Linked DNA regions of Homo sapiens: all the other regions are linked to region 1. Evidence: promoter capture Hi-C in 16 types of primary human blood cells and fetal thymus (Javierre and others, 2016). All regions are on one chromosome and are shown on one strand. Each heading gives the region's core, a stretch centred on a gene start or on the middle of the fragment in contact. The rest is flanking DNA. Distances are from core to core; before and after follow the strand shown.

What was found. Contacts are between HindIII fragments. The CHiCAGO score rates a contact against its expected background, and 5 or more counts as called.
Region 2: a fragment that was not itself captured here is called in contact with the fragment with the promoter of GRM5-AS1 in region 1 in 8 of 17 cell types (activated CD4 T cells, monocytes, total CD8 T cells and 5 more); the score reaches 10.5 in activated CD4 T cells.
Region 3: a fragment that was not itself captured here is called in contact with the fragment with the promoter of GRM5-AS1 in region 1 in 7 of 17 cell types (total CD4 T cells, monocytes, total CD8 T cells and 4 more); the score reaches 6.5 in total CD4 T cells.
Region 4: a contact is called between a fragment that was not itself captured here and the fragment with the promoter of GRM5-AS1 in region 1, in 2 of 17 cell types (activated CD4 T cells and M1 macrophages). The highest score is 5.5, in activated CD4 T cells.
Region 5: a contact is called between a fragment that was not itself captured here and the fragment with the promoter of GRM5-AS1 in region 1, in 4 of 17 cell types (activated CD4 T cells, monocytes, total CD8 T cells and 1 more). The highest score is 6.0, in activated CD4 T cells.

Annotation. Positions count from the first base shown.
Region 1 is chr11:88,503,153-88,506,021 of GRCh38, forward strand. It overlaps GRM5-AS1 (GRM5 antisense RNA 1), which reads left to right and starts at 1,424. Exons shown (of 6, transcript NR_049724.1): 1 at 1,424-2,869. It overlaps GRM5 (glutamate metabotropic receptor 5), which reads right to left. Exons shown (of 10, transcript NM_001143831.3): 10 at 1,490-2,869. The HindIII fragment of the contact is 8,959 bases long and covers 271-2,869 here.
Region 2 is chr11:88,148,831-88,151,699 of GRCh38, forward strand. RAB38 (RAB38, member RAS oncogene family) reads right to left here. Exons shown (of 3, transcript NM_022337.3): 2 at 845-1,125. Among named protein-coding and RNA genes, the nearest start is that of RAB38, 25 kb to the right of the region's middle. The HindIII fragment of the contact is 1,070 bases long and covers 820-1,889 here.
Region 3 is chr11:88,165,735-88,168,603 of GRCh38, forward strand. The region is part of intron 1 of RAB38 (RAB38, member RAS oncogene family); the gene reads right to left. Among named protein-coding and RNA genes, the nearest start is that of RAB38, 8.3 kb to the right of the region's middle. The HindIII fragment of the contact is 1,431 bases long and covers 781-2,211 here.
Region 4 is chr11:88,204,747-88,207,615 of GRCh38, forward strand. No RefSeq gene overlaps it. Among named protein-coding and RNA genes, the nearest start is that of MIR3166, 30 kb to the left of the region's middle. The HindIII fragment of the contact is 1,595 bases long and covers 656-2,250 here.
Region 5 is chr11:88,227,702-88,230,570 of GRCh38, forward strand. No RefSeq gene overlaps it. Among named protein-coding and RNA genes, the nearest start is that of MIR3166, 53 kb to the left of the region's middle. The HindIII fragment of the contact is 414 bases long and covers 1,279-1,692 here.

The sequences.
Region 1 (2,869 bases), core at 174-2,673:
ACAAAGTAAATATTTGCAAATTGTTTATGTTCTAAAACTGATCATTCATGTACAGCATAACCAAAAACTTGGCCAGCATTCAGCAGCAATTATAACAGAGGAAAAGCATTCTCTCTGTGGTGTTCAATATCAATTTACTAAGTTGTCCTTGATAGACAGTTCCAAGGTTGCATATGAGTTCAAACCTCAATAGGTTTCCTCCAGGATATATGCTTTAAGTTGGACAGGAACTTGTTAAGCTCCACAAATAACATTGATATAACAAATTTAAGCTTCCTGCTGAATATTAACTGTATACTAAATACTACATTGACACTAATAATAGCTACTATTGAGCATTTATCAGGAATGTTGAAATGATAGAAACTTCACAGATTATTGTAACTCACTTCTGCATTTAAAGCAAGAGGAACAAGTTGTAGAGAAATCAGAGTGATTTATCCAAAGTCAGTTGGTGACAGGTAAGAGATCCTGGCTTTTAATTCAATGCTATTTCTATTGCATCCGCTGGTTTTAAATGGCCTTCCATAATTTGATGGAGTCTGATAAGGCTCTTTGGATTTTTAGAAGGTAATTTCCTGTACCTGGTTTGTATATGTCACTTCATCCTCAATTTTATGTGAACATATTACCATTCATATCACGTTAGAATAAAAGATACTGAAGGGAAGAGTCTGACAAAACAGATAAAATGGCTTTCTTTGTTAAGATCAAACACATTCTGTATAATATATGTATCTACATATGTATATATATCATTATGCATTTAATACAATGTCAGAAGCATAAATCAAATATATTTTTAAATATACCTTGTTTTTCTCTTCCATACATCAAGCATCTACCTTATATTCTGCTGTTAGTTTTTCACTAATTTGTGTCCAGGGAATGTATATTTGCTCAAGAATCAGTCAAAGTAAAACTTTTTTTTTTTCTGGAAAAATTATGTAATATGCACATACATCTACACACAAACACACATATACACAGAGACACATGCAGATGGACTCAAAAGTCAAATGTCTATATAAATATGTATGTTTGTAAACACACATCTATACACACACAAATAATCTATTTTATCTGTGTGATGTTACCTCTATCAACACATATAATTATGAAACTATTTCTATAATTTGTATGTCTAGATGCATAAACAATGCATATTTCCTATATATTTTTTTAAGTACTTCTTTATGTAACAGTTGTTTGTAGATGTGTTTGGGGACAACATCTCTGGTTGGTTTGTGGTTGGTTTATATTTTCATTTAAATCTATACAGTCCACTGCTTACTTTGTAAACCCCATAATTCAAATGTATAGATCATCCAGTATTCAAGATTAATTAGTATCATGGCTCTTTTCATCTCAGAAAACACTATTAAGACAACATTCTAAACATTTGAGGGGAATAATCTTAAAATCATATTATAGGTTTTTTAATTTTTTTGAAAAGTAACTGGCTTCACAAACACCAAGTACAACATGATTTAGACAACTGAGAAACAGGCAAGTATATTTTGAAGTGCTAAAATAAAACATATTTATACAAGTACAAAGCAAAACAATGCTGATAAAAATGTTAAACTTTATGAAAAAAAATCATTTGCAGTTCACATCAAAATAATTTAACATTCTCTATTATTTTAATAGTACAAGCTGCCACAACAGAGAAAGAACAGATACACGCACACAATTTTAAAACCAAATCAGTTATAAGTGCAGAAAAAAGTAAGTACAAGCACTTTTAGCCCACACAAATCTTTTAGGATTGGCACCATCTTTCTAAAACATCTATAATCTATATAGATTTCTAATTACAACACCATCAGCAGCTGCCATTGATTTCTAGAAATACACACAATATACATAGTATATTTGTTCACATTGGGAAGATCAGTGAAATTCAACCAACTATTTTATACATGCCTCATTCTTCAATAGACAGTAGAGACTCTCCCAGGCCTCAGACCCTCTTCAAAGTGAATTCTGACTTGTCTTTATGCTTTCACTGATCTGTATTTTTTCACAGTATAAAATTGTAAATGGTAACTATAGAGATTCTGACAGCTTGAGGGTTATTAATAAGCTGTTGCTAAATGTGAACTCACATAATACCTTTGAAGTCTCCAAAACATGTACATTTTACTGGGAGACTAGCATAGGAAATGCTTTTGTTTTTTGTTATTCTTAAAAAGAGCATTTAATTCCTGGCTTGGAAGTCACAGAACTGCAGCAGAGCTATTATACAATTCATTTACAGTCAGAAATAGCTCCTAGTCTTCCTGATCACTTGCTGGTAACAGCAGTAGTTTGGGAAAGATAGTTACTTTCAAGGATTAGCACGTTTGGGGATTTGCTTTTTTTCCTTGCTTCAGTCAAATCTCTTATAATTTTTCTTTCCATACTCCCTTTCTGTTCCCCATCCCTAGCCCAGAAAGACGGTTCTTCCCAATCCAGATATGTTCTTCTTAGGCTGCCCCCACTCCTTTCCCAAAATGGAAGGATGAGTGGACTGCTTAGATTAGTCAGTATAACTTGGTTAAACCACGTCTTCTTCTTTCCATCCTGGGACATATCTCTCATTTAGGGTCACTTTGCTGAGCCTTAGCATATCCCCTTCCTTTTAGTCATGCTGGTCCCGACTGAATTATCACTGGGCACCAGGAACAGATTGTTTTGAAGGAAATTCAATGAGAATGTACCCAAATGAATTGTGAAGTTCATATCCTATAGCCCTAGAATGAATATTCAGTTCTCTTTGTACTGTAGAGTTATTACTTGGAACCTGGTATTAGAATTGGCAAAGAGACAGAGTTAGCATCATTCCAAAATAAAAGATCTCAAGAATGCATTACTAATAATCTTA
Region 2 (2,869 bases), core at 105-2,604, 350 kb before region 1:
CACACACACAAAAATCAAAAGCAAAAATGGTTATTCTTTTAAAATTTTAGTTATGGTTTTTTATGGATTTTCAAATTTTGCCATGAAAGTATTTTTTTTTTCTCCTGTGATACTGAGATTTTTTAAATACAGGCAAAAACAAAAAGAGAGTAGAACAAAAGCCAGGAACCTGACATATCAGATGGCAACATGAGGGAACAATGAGAAGTATATTATCCTCATCACACCATACAGGATCCTTCATCTTCCAGCCCTGCCTCAGCTCCACCTCCTGCCACTTTTCTGCCATCCAGGGGAAACAGCATGGCCAAGCTATGCTGTGTTCTTCACATTTGTGCTTGCTGTCTATTCTCTGTTACCCCACTATTCCGGTATGCCCAATGTAGTGTTTGCCATCTTTTCTTTCCTAGGAGGAAGCACAATTCCTGATGTACAGGTGAACATATTAAATATTGATTGTGTAAATTAACTAACACATGAATAAGGCCTTTACTATAAAACCATACTCACCTAATAAAGTTGTGGTGAGGACTAAATAGGAAAATGCATGCAAAATATGCCTGGCTCATAGTAAGACCTCAAAAGGCAAACATAGTTATCAACTATTACTATTGAAACCTTGTACAAGTTGCTTTCCTCCTCTTGCCACAATGATCTTAAATTGTAGATAATAATTCCTGCCTTACCTACTCATTGCACTGAGATGAGAAAGAGCTTAGAGCAATGTGAAAACCATACATCACTAAACAAACATATTATTATCATTATGATGATGGTGATGATTATGTGCCATTTTCTTTGTGAACCTTGCTTATATTAAGCTTATTATTTAAAGTCACATTACCTTTGCTGATGTTTCAAACCATCCTACGAAACCGTGCTCCTTGCAGAACTGGTCCATCTTGAGGCCATTGTTCATGAGCACATCCTTCCCCTGGTCACATTTGTTGGCCAACAAAACCACTGAAACCGGTTTGCCATTAGGGAGACTTAACTTGGAGTCCAAATCATTTTTCCACTTTGCCACTGCTTCAAATGTGGCTGGCCTGGTGACATCGAAGACAATAAATGCACCCATAGCTTCTCGGTAATAGACCCTCGTCATGTTTCCAAATCTTTCTTGACCTGACACCAAAAAGAAATAAAAATAAAAATGTATTAAAATTGCAAACTGAATCATATTATAACTTCATGAAGCCTCCAAGATGAGCAAGTCAATCAGTAAAGTGCTTCGTCTTTACTGATAATCTTTAAAGAGCGAACTAAATATGCAATCATGTAGCTTGTTCTTGATTTTTGAATTCAGAAGGGAATTCATCCATTTAACAAATATGTACTGAGAAATTTCTGTGTACCATGTAATATTCTAGACCTATGCAAATACAGTATTCCAGTAGCCACATATGGCTATTTAAATTAAATGAACAAAAACTAAACAAAATTTTTAATTCAAGTATTCTGTCACCCTAGCTAGCTACATTTCAAGTGTTCAGTAACTGCATGTCGCTAGTGCCTACTGTATTAGACTATGCCAATAATGAAACATATCCATCAGTATAGAACATTCGATTGGGCAACACTGTTCTAAATATTTGGGATACTCTGATTAAAACATAACCATCCCTGCCACCATGAAGATTATATTTTAATGGGAAGACAGACTCTAAACAATAAACATAATAAATAACAAAATTATGGAGTATGTTTAAAAGGGATCCACAATCTAGTCCAATTAAAGGTTATAATACTAGCTACCATTCATTCATGTTTACTAACCATGAGAAATGTGATTTACATAAGTGATCATTAAGGTGCAATTATTACCCCCATTTTAAAGTGAGAAAATTGAAACTTAGTCTAAGTAACATTCTCAAATCATACAGATAGTAAGCTTAAGAAATCATAATTCAAACCTGAGCTGTTTGAATCTAGGGCTCACAGTCTTTTACCAACATTAAATACTCTCAACCACTAAATTATAGGCTTGTACTCTCTCTTCCGCAGGCTTAGATACCAGGACCAGAGGACCATCCCTTTGAATTTGACTGAACAGATATTTATTGGACATCTATTATATCGATGCCAGTTTCTGGACTCTTGCTCAGAATGTAACAGTAAACTAGATAGTCTCTACCCTTAAATACTCTACAACCTATTGGATAAGAAAAGCTCTCCTACAGCAAAACACTAAATAAGTTTTGTTGTTGTTGTTGTTGTTTAGGATAAGGATTGGTTTCAGAATTAGAATCAGCTGGAATCAATTTTGCTCTGATGCTTAACGTTCTGATTGAATATTGTCAAGTTTCTTAAGCACTCTAAGTTTATTCTTCCTTATCTGCAAATTGGCAATAATAATATGTACTGCAGAGTTTTGCCATGTGGATGAAGTGAATTAATATATGCAAAGCACCCAGCATAGTACCTTATACTTGAGTTTTCCTTCTCTTTTGGCAGCATGTTAAATAGTGTGAAAGACAATATGGCACAAGTTCTGAAATCAGAGTTTCAGATCAGAGTTTGTGACAAAAAAATTACAAGTATTTCAGCTGAATAACAAAAATGAACAAAATCCTACTACTTCTAACTCTGTCTATTAATGGTTGCTGAAGACAGGAGCTAATGAAGACTTGTATTTTCTGAACTCAAAACCCCAGAAGTATGTGACCAGACAAAGCCTTTTTATTCTGATTTGGGAATTTATTTATGTTAAGAGTCTTATAAAGTTATATAAATTAAAATAAAGTTAGTGTGCATTTAACAAGTCGACTTTTCTTGGAAAGAGTAAAATGCTAAAACTGGGATGTATCTAGGAAAATATAGGTTAACATATCTCTAAGAAGAACACTTTACCCTTAATTTTGAGCTAAAA
Region 3 (2,869 bases), core at 246-2,745, 340 kb before region 1:
TGCTTCCAAAAGCCTGCCCTTGCTAGGTTCTCCTCATTCTTGGTGTTTCTTCTTCTCTACTTCTTTGCTGACTCTACAGTAATTTCATTAAATTATGCAGCAAATAACTCACAGCAGGATTTACTAAAAATCATGAAGGAAATTTGGATAGATAGAAAATAACTGTAACACAAAGCTTAACTAGAGAAGTGCTACAAACAAGGGAAAGAAAAGTTGTATGGGACTCAAGGGAGGAAGAAGTTACTACTGACAGAGAGAACTAGGAAAGTCTCTGTAGAGGAGCTGCCTTTTCAGATAGGTCTTAGACATCAGGTAGGATTTGGATGTGCTTCCAAAGGGAAGGACACATGAACCAGCAGACATGAACCAGCAGGGCAAGCAGGAGCAAAGGCTCAGAGGCAATAAGCATGGAAATGAACCAGGAATAGCAAGGAGTTCAAATGGTTGAAATTTAGACCTCATCATGGAGGGAGGGAGAAAATGATATTAGAAATGCTATTTAAAGCCAAACTGTGGATGACTTTGGGTGTCTCCACTGCTATGCCATTATCTCCTCTTCTCCACTGCACGAACTTCCACAGGGCTGGGTGCCTTCCCAATTTGATCATCATTATAACTCAATGCTGAAGACAGCACCCAAACACCTAGTATTAAAAAATACGTTTTTAATTATTCAAGCTTCCTTGGTAATAAGCCAGGTAATCTTGTGTTCTGGTTCTAATTCTACCACTAACAAGCTCTGTGGGCCTGAGAAACTAATGTCACCTCCCTTCCAGATCAAGCTTGCTCATCCATAAAATGACTGATATGGTTTTGATGAGTACTCAGGGTTTTAATTCTGTAAAATTACCTTTCACGAAGTTATTATTTTATATAATATACGCTTAAATTTTAAAAAAGATATAGTTTTGCCATTTGACATCCAAATGAATGACATTTCACTTCAAATTATGGAGACTGTTAAATGCAAAAACACAGCTTTTAAGAATGGTATTTAAGGACATTTCCCAGTTTTCATGGTTGGAAAAAAAATAGAATGTCTCCTTAAGAAAAGTGGTTGCCATATTTCTCAATTCTAAATTATACTTTTATATATTAATGTTTATAAAGTTGTGAAGTTTTTCAATCATGAACAGAAGTCTATTTTTTATTGAAGAAATGTTTAGATCAATGATATGTCTTAGAATTAAGGCATTGATACAATAGTTGACTGAAAAACTTTATTGAACAAATACTACTTGAGTTCCTACCACATGTCCAAATACTATGTTAGGACCCAGGGATACACTTTGGAGGAAAAAGACATTCCAATGCAATAGTAAACTATTTCTATCTGGAGTAATCATGGAACTTTATGGGAGCAGAAAAAGTGTTTCCCTGAGTCTCATGGTTTCAACAGACATTCTGGAGGAGGTGATATTGATAGAGTGAAAAGGACCCATAGGAGTTATCTATGTTAACAAGAGGAAGGTGTTTTTTTTTAGCTAGAGACAACTGTGTGAGCCACAGCATAAAGGGGAAGGTAGGTATACTGGGGCCACTGTAAGATATCTGGAATGTAAAAATCATAGATGTGAGAGATAAGACTGAATGACAAATGAGTGACAGTTATGATGGTCGTGACTGTCATGCTAAAAAGTTCAGCCTTTAATTCTAAAAATGCTGTGGCTCCAGTGATGGGTCCCAGATGAGAATATCAACTGGAGAACAACACCATGATGAGGGGTATCACCACTGTCGATTACAAACTGATTGGCAGGGAAGCTGGAGGAGGGGATGGGCAGGAGGCAACTGCTGCAACAGTTCCGGTGAGTTGTGAAGAAGATGTGGCTATTGAAAAGATGGATGAGATATTTATTTTATAAGGTAGAAAAGACAAAATTTAATTAGTACTTGAGAGTGGGCAATGAAAGGAAGGAGAGAACAGTAGAAGTTAAAATCCGAATTATTTTCAAAGAGTAATTTAAGATCACGTAACTTCTTAAATTCCTGAACAGCTGAAAAAATGAGTAAAACTCAATTATTAAGAACCCCAGGCTAGAGTCTCAGACTTGACCTTGCCAAGTTGAAGGACATCAGTCTAATTCACCATCCTAGAAGATAAGGATCATCCCTTGCTGGAATAAACCTGATTCCTACCCCAGGAGCAATAGGTCCACTGTATTCTTCTGGGAATATGCATCCCAGAATCTAAGAAAGTAACATAAATAAAGCTTCTCAATGGTTTGAAAGCTTTCAAGGAATCTCCAAAGTGAATCATCAGAAGAGGGAGAGAAAGGATTGTAAGTGTAACTCAAAACATCTATTCTCAAAAATTCACCAGATGAGTGATGGCTTTAGTATGAACCTCAGTGACTGCTTAACACCAAACCACTTTTACTAAGCAACAATTATGTACCAGGTGTCATGTTCTACTTATGCTTGGCCCAGCTTCCTCATCTATGAAACTGGAAGTAAGAAGACCTATTTGTTAGAATTACTGTGGTATTTAAATTGCAAATATTGCTTTGATAAATTGATAAATGTAAGGAATTTTCACTTTCACCGTTCTTAACATTTAATTTGGCATATATGACCTTTCCTAATTTGTCTGCCGCATCCCTCTTAACACCTCCTTCCTCACACATTGTAATCTTCAGCTAGGTCAGATTACTGAAGCCCGCATGATGTCTTCTCATCTCCATGTTATGGCTATGGTAAGTCCCCTGGTTGACTTTCTTTTAGCATGTGATACTTTCCCATCAGATCACTTTTCAATGACTAAATAATTATTTTGAAATAAATATCTTTATGCCACACCAGACTCTAAAAGTCCGTAAGAGCAAAGATCAACCTATTCCGATCACCCCTAAATTTCTCTGCTTATCAA
Region 4 (2,869 bases), core at 203-2,702, 300 kb before region 1:
AACTCAAATGGACTTGTGCCAAAACAGTCAGTTCAGATTGCAAGCAAATATGTTGGGCGAACCATTTGTTTGTTTCTACCAACTTGTACAAGCTCACTGGCAAAATGTACAGTAGTAAATATAAAATGAAGAAATATTTGTTAAATGGCCCTTTAATTTTTCCATTATTATATTTTATTATGCATCGTTAATTTAATTGGTCCACTAAAATAATATTTTCATAGTTACAAAAAATGTTTCTGTTAAAAAAGAAATTAAAATGATAGTAATAATGGAAAATATACACAGAATAGCCTAGGCAGTACAAGAGAACAAAATTAAGTCCACAAAAAGTAAAGCATAAGACAAGAAAATGCATGTTTGTACTATTGAATTCAATATTGACATTTAAATGTCAAACAGTGACATTTATATAACATTTAATTAATATATTGATTTTAATTAAGTAAGTCCTAGATTTATGTATTTAATTTAGAAATGTGTTTCGGTTTGTTTAGTTCTAAAATAATACATGAGTTTATACCTACTCTTTCTTATTCTTATACATATCTTAGTAACATAACAAATATCAGTTAACACTAGTAATAGATAAATTTTTTTTCATTTTAAGAAAGGTCTATATTTTACTCAAGTTTGAGAAACAATCTTACATAGAAGCTTTTTCTTAATTAAGTGTGTGGCAAGAGGGGTTCCTTTACATTTTTGAAATGCCCAACTTTTGAAGGGAAAAGTACCAGAAGATGTAGGATCCAGGAGAAAGAAGAATGGGGTAAGGAGGATGGAGATATACCATCTAAAAATTTCTCAGTCAATAAAAAAACTCCAGTAATGGAGACACTTCAGAGGTGGCAATGCTTTTTTTTCTCTGCCCTAGACTCTAATGGCCCTAAGGAAGTATTCATATCTGATTAGTGACTATCTTCACTGTATTTAACCATATATATTAATTTCGGTAAACACCATTGCAAAATTGGCCAAAATTAAGGAAGTGACAAATTAGTCCACAAGCCCAAACATAGTTCAATGTAACAAAATTTATTGAGCATGTACTTAGAACAGTTACTATTCTGTGGATATACTAATGAAAATAATATAATGTATTCCCATGAATAATCACTGAGACAGACATGTATATGAATTGTAAAATAATACGACAAAAATATATATTTATTTATATATGTAATTTTTTAATATATCTATAAATTGTTCAGAGGATGAAATGATTAACTTCAGAGATGTAGCAGTGGAGATAGGAGGGTCAAGGAAGCCTTTACAAAGGAAATGATTGGATTCAGTTTTAAATGCTGAAAAAAATTTTCTAACAGAATAGGTAGGGAGATTATTCTAGGCAGAAGGGATGGCACATGCTTTCGGAAAATAAGAGCCAGATTAAAAAGAAAATCTAACTGTACAGGTTGTAAATTTTGTAACAGAATAAGCTACCTAGAAAAGTAAAATATGTTTACTGGGACCAAATTTGTATTTGAATGTACCTAGTTTAATGTATGAAACTTATTTAACTAGAATCATCTTCTTCCTAAAACCAAAGAAGGAAAAATTATATCACAAAGTGTTCTTATATGAACTATGGAGTTAACATTAAGTTTTTACACTTCATCTGGTTACCTTGATTGGTAGTTTGATCACAGTTTGCCTTATATCCTGCAATAAAATTGTGGTGGTTAAATAGGCTCACTGCAATAAGGCAGACATGGGTCTTAAAGCATGCGAGTAGTGAATACAGTTAAGCTAACTCTCAGATAATTTTATCTTTTACCATGTCCTTGAAATTACTCAGCAAGGTTTTAAATTGTCTACATTGAAACTGAGATGAATATGTTTTGATAGACCTCTAGTAAAGAAAAAGAGAGCCATACTAAAATGTCATACCTGGGAAGTACTATATTTTATTAATCAGGTGACAGTGATATTCCTTTAGATCTAATAGCTGGAACAATGAAGCTGAAAATGGCAACATTATGCTAAATTTAAGGACTTATAAGTGATAGTCAAATGTTTGTGGCAGAAGAATTGGGGTATTGAATTCAGATTTCTTAGATGAGTCAACAGGAGTTTCTTGCTCTCTCATTGGGAGTGTCCTCCCCTCCTTCTGTGATTTGTTGTATCATCAAACACTGGTTGCTTTCCCACAGGGGACTCATTCTGTTTTTAGTTAGTTTCAGTCCTCATCTACTACCCACTCCTCCCTCCATTCAACATTCATAGCCACCCTAGCATCATCTGCCTTGAAGCTTTTCGGAATGAATTCCACTGTGCCTTCATTCCTGTTCCTATTAGTCACCTCTCAAAGCTCAGGACCTCCAGGTCATTTGCTGTCTCCTGGACTCTCAACTTCTAATAGGGCTGTATTCTCTCATCTGATCCCATTTCTCACCTAGGCCTCAACTTTTGAAACCCTTCCACTTTGTCCTCAATAACCTATGTCTAGTCCTCTACTTTCTTAATATTGCCTCTGAACAGTCTCTACATCTTCTGGAAACTGACTTTTGCTAAGACCCTTCTTCCCCTATGGATCTCTAACATACCAGTACAATTGTGAGTTCAATATGTAGTTGGTAGTTGAGAGAAAGTAATACTCCAGAAGGAAACTTCCAGAATGATTTCCTTCAACCTGCAGGCAAATGAGCTTCGTTGGCCATGTAATTACTAAAGGAGATGCTATTCAACTTTTAAAATGCATTTTATGCTGCAAGTGGAACAGAAGAGACTACAGAGAAACTTCGAGTTATAATCTCCTTTTTCTTTCCAGTAAGACCATGATTTCAAAAAGAATCTTTGGTATGGTTCAAAGAGCCTAGGTTTGTACTTACTTTCAGAGGTTTAAAGGCTGGCCCTTCAACCTTCTACT
Region 5 (2,869 bases), core at 236-2,735, 280 kb before region 1:
ACTTGTGATCTTTCTACTTTTTTGATGTAGGCTTTTAATGCTATAAACTTTCCTCTTAGCACTGCTTTTGCTGTATCCCACAGGTTTTGGTATGTTGTGTTTCCATTTTCATTTACTTCAAAAAATTTTTAAATTTCCAACTATACCTCTTCATTGACACAGTGATCATTCAGGCATGCCGTTTAATTTCCATGTACGTGTATATTTACCAGACTGCGTTGGCATTGATTTCTGACTTTATTCCAGTGTAATCTGAGTAAGTACTTGATATGATTTTGATTTTTTACAATCTGTTAATACTTATTTTTGGCCTAATATTTGGTCTATCTTAGAGAATATTCCATGCGATTGTGAAAATAATGCATATTCTCTATTTATTAGGTAGAATGTTTTATAAATGTCTATTAAGTCAATTTGTTCTGAAGTCCAATTTAAGGCCAATGTTTCTTTGTTAAGTTTCTACCTCAATGATCTGTCTAGTGCTGTTAGTGGGATATTAAAACTCTCTACTGTTATTGCATTGCTGTCTGTCTCTTTCTTTTGGTCTAGTAATATTTGTTTGGTAAATATAGGTGCTCCAATGTTGTATGCATATATACTTAGGATCGTTATATCCTCTTGCTGAATTGATCCCTTTATCATTACATAATGGCCTCCTTCATCTTCTTTCTTTACTGTTTTTGATTTAAAGTCTGCTTTATCTGATATAAGCATAGCTACTCCTACTCACTTTTGGTTGGTTTGTGTAGAATATCTTTTTTCACCCCTTTACTTTCCGTCTAATTCAGTAAGGTGAATTTCTTGTACCATATAGTTTTCATCCCTTTACTTTCAGTCTAATTCAGCAAGGTGAATTTCTTGTACCATATAGTTGGATTGTGGGCTTTTTGTCTATTCTGCCAATCTTTATCTTTTAAGTGCAGCATTTTATTCATTTACATTCAAGGTTAATATTGATATGTGAGGCTTTGTTTCTGGCTTATTATTGATTGATTTCAAGTTGTTTTAAACAATTCTTTTTTTTTCTTTTTGTCTTTGTGGTTTAATGAAATTCTGTGGTATCTTTGACATCTTTCTATTCCTCTTTTGTGTGATTGTTTTATACAAACTGTAAGTTGTATATTGCCATGTGTTTTCATGGTGGTGAATATTAACCTTTCATTTCTTGCTTAAGGACTCTTTGAGCATTTACTATAGGTCTAGTCTAGAGTCTAGTAGTGGCAAGTTTTCTCAGTTCTTTCTTGTCTGAGAATGACTTAAATTATCCTTCATTTATAAAGCTTATTCTGGCAGGATACAAAATCATTGGCTGGAAGTTTTTCTTTCAGTATTTTGAAAGTGCCATCTCATTCTCTTCTGGCCTGTAATACTTTTGCTGAAGAGTCCACAGTTAGTTTGATGGGATTTCCTTTATAGTTGACTTGATATTTTTCTCTTGCTAATTTTAAAACTCTTTATTTCACTTGGACTTTAGACATTCTGAGTATAATATGCCATGGTGAGGTCCTTTGTGCAATGTATTTTCCTTGGGGTTGCTGTGTCCCCTGTATCTAGATGCCTAACTTTCTTGATAGATGAGAAATTTTCATTATTTTCTTAAATATGTTTTCTAAACTTTTTGATCCCTCTTCACTTTTGGCAATACCAATAATTAGTAAATTTGGTCACTTTATCTGGTCCCAGATGTCTGAAAGCTTTGTTCATTCATTTTTTATTCTGTTTCTCTTATTTTTGTCTGACAGGATTATTTTGAAAGTCTTGTCTTCAAGTTCTGAGATGCTTCTTCTTGGTCTAGTCTATTATTGAAACTTTTGGATATATTTTTTATTTCTTTCAATGAATTTTTTAATTCCAGAATTTCTATTCTATTTGTTTTTATGATGTTCATCTCCTTGGTAAATTTCTCATTAATATCCTGGATTGATTTTCTGATTTCTTTGTATTGATTTTCAGGTTTATCTTGCATCTCATTGAGATTCTTTAAGATCAGTATTTTGAATTCTTTATCTGAACTTTTAAAGAGGAATTATTTTTGATTGGGATCTGTTATTGGATAATTTTGGTCCTTTGATGGTATCATATTTCCCTGATTTTTCATGTTTCCTGTGTCCCTCCATTGATTTTGGTGCATCTTGTATAGCAGTCACTTTTTCCAAGTTTTTGAAATTGCTTTCATAGGGGAGAATTTTTTCCTGAGGATGTGTATATGTTGTTGATTCAGTTAAGATACTGTGGCTTTGATTTTGGGTGCTCATGGTAGTGTGATCTTTGTATGAATATTTTGGCAGTACACAGGGCAGTGGTCTCTGTGATTTCCTCAGTGACTAAGGGTACAGCTAATAGTTGAGTTTGTGGTGGAATTAAGCTAGTGACCTGGACACCAACTAAATCAGTCTTCAGGCTCTGGTGGTAGTAGCAGTGGGGTCCTTTCAGGCCCCAGAGCAACTTACACTGGCTCTAGTGTTTGTGAGTCTGGGAGGACTGATTCTTGAGCCTTCACGTGGCTTGCTTAGAAATTAATAGTAAGAGCAGTGGTCCCAGTGTGTGGGTGGGTTCTTAGGACCCTTGGTAGCTAATGTGGTATGGGTGATGGTAGTAGCAATGGTGGTGCAACCCACTGGGACCCAAGCAACGCATGTTGTTGTTGCTGGAAGCTGTGATGGGTTGGGTGGGCTAGTCTCCAGTCCCACAGCCACCTGTAGCAGGGCAGTAAGCATTGTCCTAACTGTGCTTAGGAGAGCTTTGTCTCACTTATCCCTTTCCCAGCTGGGTGGCAGCTGCAACTATGTCACCTCAAACTTGGCCCAAGGTTGGGGCACAGCCCAGTATTAAGTTCTCAGAATGGCACTCTGGGCCTGTGACCAGGGAG